Regions from separate parts of the Homo sapiens genome. Here regions 1 and 3 are each linked to region 2. The links are contacts of gene promoters, found by promoter capture Hi-C in human tissues and cell types (Jung and others, 2019). All regions are on one chromosome and are shown on one strand. Each heading gives the region's core, a stretch centred on a gene start or on the middle of the fragment in contact. The rest is flanking DNA. Distances are from core to core; before and after follow the strand shown.

Region 1 (3,703 bases), core at 1,045-3,544, 1.0 Mb after region 2:
ATCTTTCTAGCCCCACTGTTCTACTTTTTCCTGGATGTCCTCACTGGGATTCTGGATAGTTCTAATATTAACAGAACCCCTTTGATCTGAGCTCTCTGTTCTAGACTGGAATCACTTCTGAGGACTTCTTTCTGGCCTAGATAAGCTTGTCTAGAACAATAACTTTCAAACTGTTATCAGCTGCGACCCGTATTAAGAAATACGTTTTCATCAGAACTCAGTCTACATACATCTGTGTTTGTGTCTGTGTGCAGATGTACAAAAAGCTGATTCAAGTTTCATGCAACAATGCCTTCATCATGACATGAAATGCACTCTGAATTGTTTGTGTACTCTATCCTATTTTAAAATATTTTTGAATGTGCTAGTTACAACTCACTATATTGATTTCATGACCCACTATTGGGTTGCAACCCACATTTTGTAAAGAACTGGGGAAGTCCCTTAAAGTGCGATCCATGGACCAACAGCATTGACATTGCCTGCGAGTTTGTCAGAAGTGAAGACCCTAGACCAACTGAATCAGAATCTGCTCAGATTATTGAGGATCTTTTGAAACTGCAGATTCAGATTCAATAGGTGTGAGGTGGGCCTAAGTTCTCCATTTCTAACAAGCTTCTGGGTGACACTGATGCTGCTAATATTGAGAGCCTACTTTGGGTAGCAAGGATTTAAAGAGAAGACACAAAGCAGATGGATAAAATTGAAATCACTTTTTGAGGCTCCACTCTGTAAGTTCTGTGGGGGCAGAGATATATCTATATAGATCATCACTGTATCCCACGTGCCTAGTAGATTGGCTGACACACAATCAGTGCTCAGTAAATGTAGAATTGATTCATTGAGTAGATGGATGAAGGAATGAATAAATTCCAGTTAGGCTATAGAATCAACTCAGTCTCTCATGTATATGCTAAAGTACAAGTATCACTGTTGGTGAGAAAGGTGAGTCAGATCAGGAACTCACTCCACTGCCTCAACCACTAATGTAGAGGCAGGCAACTCAAGAATTCTTAATAAATAGAAACATATTTGCTCACAAATTAAACTAGCCTCCTATATTGGTTTTTGATTTATAAATAGAAAGACCATACAGTTTATCATCCACATAGAGACTCCAAGATTAAAAGAGGGCCCTGTTAATAAATCAGACTGCCTGGACATGCAGAGACATACAGGTACTCTAGAAGCAGTCAAAATACTACAGCTTCAGGTCAATATGGGGGAACATAACGCCCCTCAAACCACTTTGTTTATACTTTAGTGATAGCACTTAGCACATTGTATCATGGTTGTTTGCTTAATGCCTAGGTTCCCAAATGCAATGTGAGTACCTGAAGGCCAGGGAGGGAGTTCACCTCTATGTCTCCAGTGTCATCTAGGACCTGTCCACTCAGATGCAAAAAGGTCTATTGAACAGATTTGGTGGTCTAGAAACACACAACCTACCTTAGTAATAGGTTATCTTGACTGTAGCCAACATAGAAAACCAGAAGACATTGGGATAAACTGATTCAAGGAGACTTGGTTTCTTTTCCCTATAATAAAAAAAGAATACTAAAACTCTGATTTCATGAAAAAAAAAATCTCAGTAACAGTCAATGACTGAAAGAAAGACAATGAAGTAGAGGAACATAGGCAACTAACGATCTGTAGGGGATTTGTGGTAGAAATGACAGATGAGAGAATGCCAAGAAACAGGATCTAGACAGAGTTAGCTAGCAGCCAAGCAAAAATGCAGGATAATTAATAAGTTTCACATTTTCAGAATTGGTTAATTGTGCACCCAGAGATTGTTATTACTACAACCGATCATTGCAGATGGCAAGGCCAGGCTATCTGTAACTTATCCTACAGCCAAAATATCTTGGAGGTACTCCTGACTGGCATCTAGCCAAACTGTGTCAGTTGAAGGAAGCTTCATATCTCTACCATGTCAGAATGGAACCAACTGCCTTTTGAGATAAAACAGCATTCAAATAGAAAACCCTTCAAAAAAGAAAAGACAGAAATAATTTATGGATCCAAAGATCCAAACAGTTGATGTAACCACAGGAATTATTTCTCAGATCTACAGGGACTGAACCATTCCTAGTAGATGTTAGCACAGTGTTGCTGACTGAGTTGGGAGTTTATGCAGGCTCAGTGCTGAATCCAGAGACGTGAATCACTGAACAAATAGCTCAGGTTCTCTAATGGGCAGGTGGTGGCACCAGTTCACTAACCAGAAAGAGATGGGAAGGAGGGTTAAAGCTGAGCTAATAGTAGCTCCCTTAAGACAGCAAATCTTCTGCAGAATATACTCCAGTTTGGGCTTCTTATTCTGGATTTTGAGCTGAATGGTCTGTGTGTCATCTTTTATGCCTTCTCAGCTTAGTTCTTAGGAGTTTAGAAGAGACAGAAATGGAGTAGAAAGAAACTAAGACCATCATTCAGTAATAACTTACCTTACGGCAAGTGCCATATTGTATCACCTCATTTAAGATTCAGAGCCACACTAGAAATTAGGCATCATATACCCAATTTATATACAGTAAGCCAAGAGGCAGAGAAGTTACTTACAGAGAAGGCAAAGAAGATTTCATGTAAGTGGGAAGTTATTGTGCCAGGCATCTGAACTTAGGTCTCTCTGACCCCAAAACTCCATTTGAAATTTCCCCATAGAGTCAGTGGCTCTACTGGGAAAGCCCTACTCACTCCATTCCGCCTTGGAATGATGTGCCCTTCAAACCCAGATGGTACATGTCCTGTGTGAACTGCAGAAATAATACGTGAGTACCCTGGAAACCTGCAGTTTATTATTTCTGTCTTACACTTAAAACACATGGTGGCCACAGTAGTTGGAAACAAATAAGAGGTGATCTGGTGCTGGGAAAGTGAGTAACCATGTAATTAGCAAAGCTAATGTTGTGCAGTTTCCATAAATAACATGCTGTTTACTTTTGTTATTAAGAGACTTTTAATATTAAAAAGTGTGGGGGGTGTCTAAGGTAGACAAGAAAGATGATATCAGGCACCTGGCAAAGGAGGGAAAAAACTTACTCTGAGAAACTATCTCTTCATTGTTTAATGTTCTTTACATCCTTAAAAATAATCCCCTCAGTTTTCCTTGCAGCTTGAGAACTTGATTATTTGTTGCATTGGTTATGAGAGTGGTAGAGTGAGACTTCCACCTGAAAATTTGCCTACAGAGAAGACAGCTTGTTATTATTATCCAAGACAGGGAGTCTCCTCATCAAGATTCCACCCCATGGGGTCTGAGCCATGGCAGAAGAGGATTAAAGTGTTAGATCATGCAGCACAAGCAGTCCCTCCCAGGGTTCTTGGAAATGGCTGCAAACCATCTCTAATCTAGACATTTAAGTCTCCTCCCATATCCTTCATTCCTAACTGCCTGGGTCAAACTCATTTTCTCCTTACCTAATTTTTCTGAAAATGCATTATTCAATATTTCTGTTTTGGAAGTATTCTCATCTTTTTCCATTTTGTGGCTTTGCTATCTAATTTCAAACATAAATCCACTAAGTAGAGTTGACATCTAGTTCCAGGGTCTGTCCAGGGGACTATAGGCATGCAATAAATGTTAAATCATGATGACAATAGATACAAATAGCAATGTGATCACAGTGAAACACTTCATTTTCCTAGTTGCATGAACTCTACAAAGCTTTGACCCCAAAACAGCTTTGTATGCACGTGTGTG
Region 2 (3,489 bases), core at 760-3,259:
GCCAGCAATACAAAGGGAGCTTTCAGGGGACCCTCATGCCCAGGGGCAGGGCAGGGACAAACAGCGGCCGAGAAGCGATTACTAAATTTCCATCTCACACAAGCCGGTGTTGTGTCCTCCGCGCTGCCCCGACGTCTGCCCCGAAAGGCTTCCCGGGCGGGACGCTGGGAGAGGGATCCCCTTGGGAAACCAGGTGGGGCCGCTGGGCCTGGGCTGCACGCCGCGGAGGTGCGAGAGCCCAGAGCAGCAGCATCGCTTCCTGCCCCTCGCGAGCTCCAGGAGAAGTTTCCTCCTCCCTCTCTCCACCAGCGCCCCCAACCATAGAGCCAGGGTCGCCCCTGCTCTGAGATCTGCGAAAGGACTCCCCATGGGAACACAGACACTAGAGCAGCGAGGGCGCCAGGCTACCCTGGAGCGAGGAGAGGTGACACCTTCGCATCTGTCCCTTCATCTTGGGAAGATTCTACCTTTCAGACAGACCAACCCAGGTTGAGGCTGCCGTGGTGGTGTCCGCTTAATTCCAGCTAGGACACCGTCTTAAGAAGCCATCACAATCCAACCCTCCAAATAACAGCATTAAGGGCAGCGAGGAGGCGAATCTTTAGGGAGACCCCACTCTCTGTACGTGTGTGTCCCAGGGGACACACTTGAAAGGGCCAGAGATGGTACAGACGCTCACATGTGACAAGAGAGAACCTGGAAACTCCGCACCTCCGGCTCCCCACAGCTGGGGTTTTGCTGTCTTCAACCCTCGGGCGGGGGACGTCCGGCAGCTCTGCAAACGCGCAGACACGCGAACCCCATCGCCTCGCGCGCCCTTTGGCTCCGCTGGTGCGTGTCGGGGATGCGGCCGCGCAGGCGCTCGCTCCCTGGCTTCCTGGCCGGGTAGCGGGCGTTCGGCTACCGGAGTCCAGCCTAAGGGCCCAGCCGAGGTCTCCCCGCGCGAGGCGGTTGCGCTAGGTGAGCGGGTACCGCGGCCGCGCCTCCCTTGTCATTTACTCAGCGGTCAGAGGCATCCTGCGTCTGGGAGTCCCAAGTGCCTTCGGCTGGGTGCCCCTGTCCGATCCTCAAAAGGAAAGCACAAATCCCGGGTGCGAGTCTAACCCAGGACCGAACTTTCCCGCGAACCTGAAGTTACCATGGGGCGGGAGCCACCTTAGCGCCGCGTCCGCCCGCCCCTCGCACCGGCTAGGATGCTGCGGAAGGCAGGGGCGCCGAGAGGCAAGGGTGAAAGACGCCGTCCATACCCCCAAAGCCCGAACCTGCATCTCCTCTGCGAGGCGCAGGGCGGGAGGACCGCTGCAGTTGGGAGCCGGCTCCGGACAGGCAAAGCGACCCGACAGGTGAACGCGGCGGGAGGGAGCAAACGCGTAAAAAACCCTGCACTTACTTCTTCGCTGGCGCCTTCCCCGGGAGGCGTTTTGGCTGCCGATGTATTCCATAAAGTTCAAAATGATAAAAAGCCAAGAAATCAGTCGCAAGTGCATAGTAACCCAGTAATGCTTCCCTTCCTTTCTCCTCTTTCTTTTGATTGTTAATTATATTTAATGTTTTTAAAATATATGTAGGTGTTAGGCGTATATAGACAGTGCCCGAGCAGCGGGACTTCTCCTCTCACATCCGATAGGCGTGCTGTGATGGCAAGCGAAGTGGGGCGGGTGGACAGGGAAACCAACTATTGTACTTTCAAATTATCCAAGCACTGAACTGCGGCGGCTTCGCTGGGGTGGCTGGCATCGCCGCGAACCGGGGTTCCAGGAGCCGCCGGGGCGGCCGCAGGTAGCATGTTGTGCGGCAACTGCCGCAGGCGGGATCCGGGCGGGCGAGCGGCGGCGGCGGCGGCTGCAGCGGCGGCCCCTTGGGCTCAGAAGCTGCGGCGGCTGCGGCTGCAGCGGCGGGGGCCCCTGGAGCGCAGGGGAGCGGGCGCCGTCGGCACAGCGGCCATGGCCAAGGGGCGGCGGAGAGACCCCGAGCTGCTTCTGGCGTGCGCGAGCAGGAGACGCTCCAGTGTTGGGCTGGGCTCCCGGGAGCACCACATAGGGGAGGAGGAGGAGGAGGGCAGGGAGGGGGGAGGGAGAGGAGGGCAGGGAGGGGGAGAGGAGGGGGGATGGCTGTGGGGGGCGGGGGGGAGCTCGGGGGCGGGGAAGGAAACTGCTGGAGCAACAACCCTGAGCGACCTCAATAACTTTCAATTTCAAGAGGGAAAGAGGGAGCTGGAAAAGTACAGGCGTTGCGCTTTGGCAGAGGGACGGGAAGAGGCGCCTAAGGGGTCCCGGGTCTACAGCGCAGCATCTCTGGACACTGCAGTGACGGCCGGAGAATTCCAGCCAGAAGAATGGGGAAAGCAGTGCGTGCGAAGAGCCCCTCCAGAAGGGCAGCTCTGGCGGGGAGACTTGGGCGCACTGGGGCTGGCAGGCAGTGTTGAGGCCGAAGACCCCCCACCCATCCCAGTTCGGCTCCTCTCCGCGGCCTCAAGCTAGGCGCACCCGGCTGTCGGTGGCCGTGCGCCCCTGCGCCCTTGTGCCCCAGCGCCCCCACCCCATCCCCAGCGCCGGCGCGCAACTACCCTCTCCCCCTTGGCAGATCGCTGGAGAGTTTCTGGCTGCTGACTTGTTCCCGGCTTTCCTGACCTTCTCCTCTGTTGCCTTTCTCCCTTTTTCTTTTTCTCTCTCTTTCTTTCTTTCTTTCTTTCTTTCTTTCTTTCTTTCTTTCTTTCTTTCTTTCTTTCTTTCTTTCTTTCTTTCTCTTTCTTTCTTTTCTTTCTTTCTTCCTTCCTCTTTCTTTGTCTTTCTTTCTTTCTTTCCTTCCTTCCTTCCTTCCTTCCTTCCTTCCTTCCTTCCTTCTTCTTTCTTTCTTTCTTTCCTTTCTTTCTTTCTTTTCGGCTGCAGTTGGTCGCCAGGCGGGTGGTGGGGAGGAAACTCTGTGGGTGCTGCCGGTCAGCTACTCTGAGGTTTACCTGCTCCGAGCGGGGAGGACCCAGAAGTGTGTGCGCTCAGGACCTTCCCGTTGGAAATGCAGCTGTGCTACGGCTTTCTTCCAAACCAAGGCTTTTCTGTGGCTTTGGAAGATTCCTTTCCCGCTCAGGCAATTCCCTCTATAGTCAGCTCGCCCCCCTTGGAGTTTTCTCTCCCACCCTCGGTCTCCCAGTGTTCTTGAGAGGATCTGTTGTACATTCTAATCTCGCATCTGGAAGACTGGGAATAAGATTTGGAAAGATTTTCCCAGTCTTGGGGAAGGAAGGGGAAGGTCCACTACTTTCTTATCTTCCCAGCCCAAGTGGAGGCCCAAGGCAGCAGAGAGTAAGATGCTCTGGCCCACCCAGGGATGGGAGAACAGAGGGCCGGCACCCCTGAGTGGGGCACACCCTGGCTGTCGTTAGTAAATGGTGAGCTTTCCACGTCTTTTCTCCGGTAGCACCAGCCGATGAACTTTTCAGTAATTACTGAAGAAGTATTTAGTCGAAAGTCACAAGCCTCAAGTGATTTTAAC
Region 3 (3,446 bases), core at 843-3,342, 1.1 Mb after region 2:
TCAGCTAGAAGCAACAATATAAATGAATCTTCAAAACTGTTGAGCAAAATAAGCAGCTAAACTCTGTTTGAAGATGCCATCTTAAGTGGTAAAACTATATGGGTAAGCAATGAAGGATTATCTAAAAGTCAAGATATTGCTTACACTTAGAAGGCACAGAGGTGATTCTGAAGTAGCACTTTGGCAATACTGTATTCTATTTCTTGATCTAAGTGGTGATTACATGAGGTTAACTTTGTGACAATTTATTGAGCAATAGGCATATTTTATGCATTTTACTGGCAAAACAACTTTTTTTTTTTTTTTTTGAGAAGGAGTCTCACTCTGTCGCCCAGGCTGGAGTGCAATGGCACAGTCTCGGCAGCAATTCTCCTGCCTCAGCCTCCTGAATAGCTGTGATTACAGGCGCACACCACCATAACTGGCTAACTTTTGTATTTTTATTAGAGACAGGGTTTCACCATGTTGGTCAGGCTGGTCTCAAACTCCTGACCTCATGATCCGCCTGCCTCGGCTTGGCCTACAGAAGTGCTGGGATTACAGGCGTGAGCCACTGTGCCCGGCCCTTATTTTTTTTTTTTTTTTAAGTCATGAATGAAGTTGGTCAGTTGCCCAGCATTGCAGCCATTAAGCAATTCACCCTTGTTTTTCACTGTGGCTAAAATCCAGACACCAATGTCCTGGCTGGCTGGGTGGATGGCACCCCCCAAGCCTCATCACTGATAAGCCATGTGACTTGTCCACTGCCCTGCCCTCAGGACAAGTGTAACAATTCACCTAGGGCTTACAAGCATCTCTAGGCAAAGGAATGGAGTATCCTGACTACAGGGTTATAACTCAGTCCGTGTTACAGACTATATAATTGTGTCTCCCCAAAATTTATGTTAAAACCCCAACCCCCAGTGGGATGGTTTCAGAGGTGGGGCTTTTGAGAGTTAAATGAGGTCATGAGGGTGGGGCCCCCATGATAGGATTAGCGTCCCTGTGAGAAGAGAAACAGGTTAGAGCTCCCTCTCCCATCTTCCCTCTCGACATACATACATGCACCAAGAAAGGCCATATGAGGACATAACAAAGAGCGCCCTTCCCAAGAACTCAGCCATGCTGGCATCCTGATCTTGGACGTCCAGCTTCTAGAACGGTAAGGAATGGGTATTTGTTGTTGATGTCACTTGGTCCATAGTATTCTGTTATGGCAGCCCAAACTGAGTGACAGTCCATGTAAGGCCACACCCAAAGGGCCTGGACTTGTGATTCACTCACAGCCAGGCCCAGACAGGATGAGTTCTGACCCCACAGGATCCAGCCACACCCTGGCCTGGAGGCAGAGGTCAGCTTTGGTCCTGGCGCTCAAAGTGAGTTTCTTCTAGAGGGTTTCCTTGCTCCCCTACTTTCACAATCCAGCCTTGATCATTGCTCCCTCCAACCGTCAAACAAAGGAAAGGGTCTGAACCCTAGTGCCTTTCCCTAAGAAGCCTCTGCTCCCATGCAAATGTAAATAGCTATGCAGGCACCGAGGATATTCCCATCTTTGTCTAGCAGCATTTGAGCTCCGGTTTTCTATAGTCTGAGCATCTGTCTCAGCAACGGTCCTTTTATGATCATGATAAATTCACGATAGGTACTATTATTTTCATTGTACACGTGAAGGACAACTTCAGTCTACAGTCATACCACCCTCAACGCTCCCAATCTCGTCTGAAGGACAACATCAGAGAAACAAAGCAACTTGCCCAAGAGTATACAGCTAAAGAATAGTAATAATATAATTTCTGTTATTATCTATTGAGTACTTGCTATGTATCAGGCACTGTTTTAAATACTTTGCAAGTATTCATTTTATAATTCTTCCCACAATCCTAGGAGACAAGTACTTCTATTATTCCCATTTCACAATTAAGAAAACTGAGGCACAGAGAAACTGTCATTTTCTCAAGATCATAATAATTAATGAATGAAGGAGTCAAGAAATGAACCAAGGTTGCTTAACCACAAACTTTAGCCAGCAGTTCCCCAGAATTAAAGTGTAGGTTATAAGGTTTTGAAGTTTGAAATCTCCAGATGTACCAAAAGCAGGTCACTACCAGTGAGTGAAACACGAAGAGGGTATCCTACATGCTGCCTGAAGGCGTGGCTCTCTGTGGTTGCCTCTCAGCCTGCAGGACTCAGCTCCCACTCCAGCCCTGCCTCGTCATCGTGGCAGGAGTTCTCCAGCAGTGGACACGTGATAGAAGAACAAGATTATTTGACCAATTATCTTCTCTCCTTTACACTACTCTAGCTAACATATTCCCTTTTTAGTAGGTAGACTTGTTGAACTATATACCTAACAATAAAAGAAAAAGTTTCATATTCAGTTCTCTGGTTTTTTAGCTCTCATTTTCATAGGCAAATGGTTCACGTTTTGTGAGTGAGATATTATCCGGTGGCTCTATACACTTCTGCTGATAAGGACTCAGCTGTGAATGGAAATGCTCCTAGACTCAAAGCAGGATCACCAACGCTGCCTGGGGGATCAGCTCACACATCTAAAGTAAAAGCAGTTTCTGTTCTAGTATTAAGTAATTACAGCTAATTATACTTTTTAATGATCCTTGCTCCACACCAGAAGGTTCTAACTAAACAAACATAAAACAAGGCTGCTAAACAAATGATTAAGATGTGGAACATAAAACAAAAACCACCTCTGGGTGGAACAAATTATCACAGATTTTTAAAGTAAACATTGACCTTAGGATAAATCTGCAGCCTAAGAGCTGTCTCCTTCCTTTTCAATGAATCTGGGCCTAACTTACATGATTTTTTTTGGCCTACAGAAACCCTGTGTCTGACCTGGTATTTGCACTTTATGGTTTGGGCGTTTTTATCTTGCCATAAATTGTCATGGTTATTAAATACAGTTTCAAAATTGTCTCTAATCTTTCGTGGTGACTTTTTTTTTTATCTTGGAGGCAAATTAATTTTTTCCTGTGAGACTGTCTTTCCAGTTCAGAATGCAAGTCAGTCAGGAAATGTGATCTAATAGCTCCTGCCTCACTTACCCTTACACAGCCTCAATCCAGGAGCCCAAGGCTCTTGGCTACCCCAGCAGCTGTGTATTACATTTATTTGAATCCTGTTTTGAGAATAGAAGGTACTAATCCTTCTGGAGCTGTTTACAAGTGCTTAAAGGGGTCCACAGAGCTGTGGTTTAATCCAGGGTATCGGTCATCTCACAGGCAGATTTTCAGAGACACGTGGGCTGCCCTCAGACACATCAGAGGTCAAGGGTCCCAAATTGTTGCATGTGCGCTTTCTCCCTCCACCCCATGCCCACCTTTGCTCATGAGTCAGAACCAACACTCAGAGCTCACCCCCATCTTCTCCCTCCCTCCCCCAGTGCTCACGACCCACCATTCTCCTAACTTCTCCTCACCAAAGGTTGCCAACCTCTAGCTCCTTCTAAT

Evidence for each region. The method cuts DNA at HindIII sites, captures the fragments that hold promoters and counts their contacts. A contact is called where the count stands out against the background at its distance.
Region 1: a contact is called between a fragment that was not itself captured here and the fragment with the promoter of RSPO3 in region 2, in 1 of the 25 tissues and cell types used here (H1 embryonic stem cells).
Region 3: a contact is called between a fragment that was not itself captured here and the fragment with the promoter of RSPO3 in region 2, in 1 of the 25 tissues and cell types used here (mesendoderm cells).

The regions. Positions count from the first base shown.
Region 1 is chr6:126,110,701-126,114,403 of GRCh38, reverse strand. It overlaps a transcript of TRMT11 not described here. Among named protein-coding and RNA genes, the nearest start is that of TRMT11, 130 kb to the right of the region's middle. The HindIII fragment of the contact is 3,828 bases long and covers 381-3,703 here.
Region 2 is chr6:127,117,191-127,120,679 of GRCh38, reverse strand. It overlaps RSPO3 (R-spondin 3), which reads right to left and starts at 2,009. Exons shown (of 5, transcript NM_032784.5): 1 at 1,391-2,009. The coding sequence starts at 1,487. LOC105377989 (a long non-coding RNA gene) reads left to right here. Exons shown (of 14, transcript XR_002956387.2): 4 at 1-1,779. The HindIII fragment of the contact is 6,946 bases long and covers 1-3,489 here.
Region 3 is chr6:126,064,062-126,067,507 of GRCh38, reverse strand. It overlaps a transcript of TRMT11 not described here. Among named protein-coding and RNA genes, the nearest start is that of TRMT11, 79 kb to the right of the region's middle. The HindIII fragment of the contact is 7,363 bases long and covers 1-3,446 here.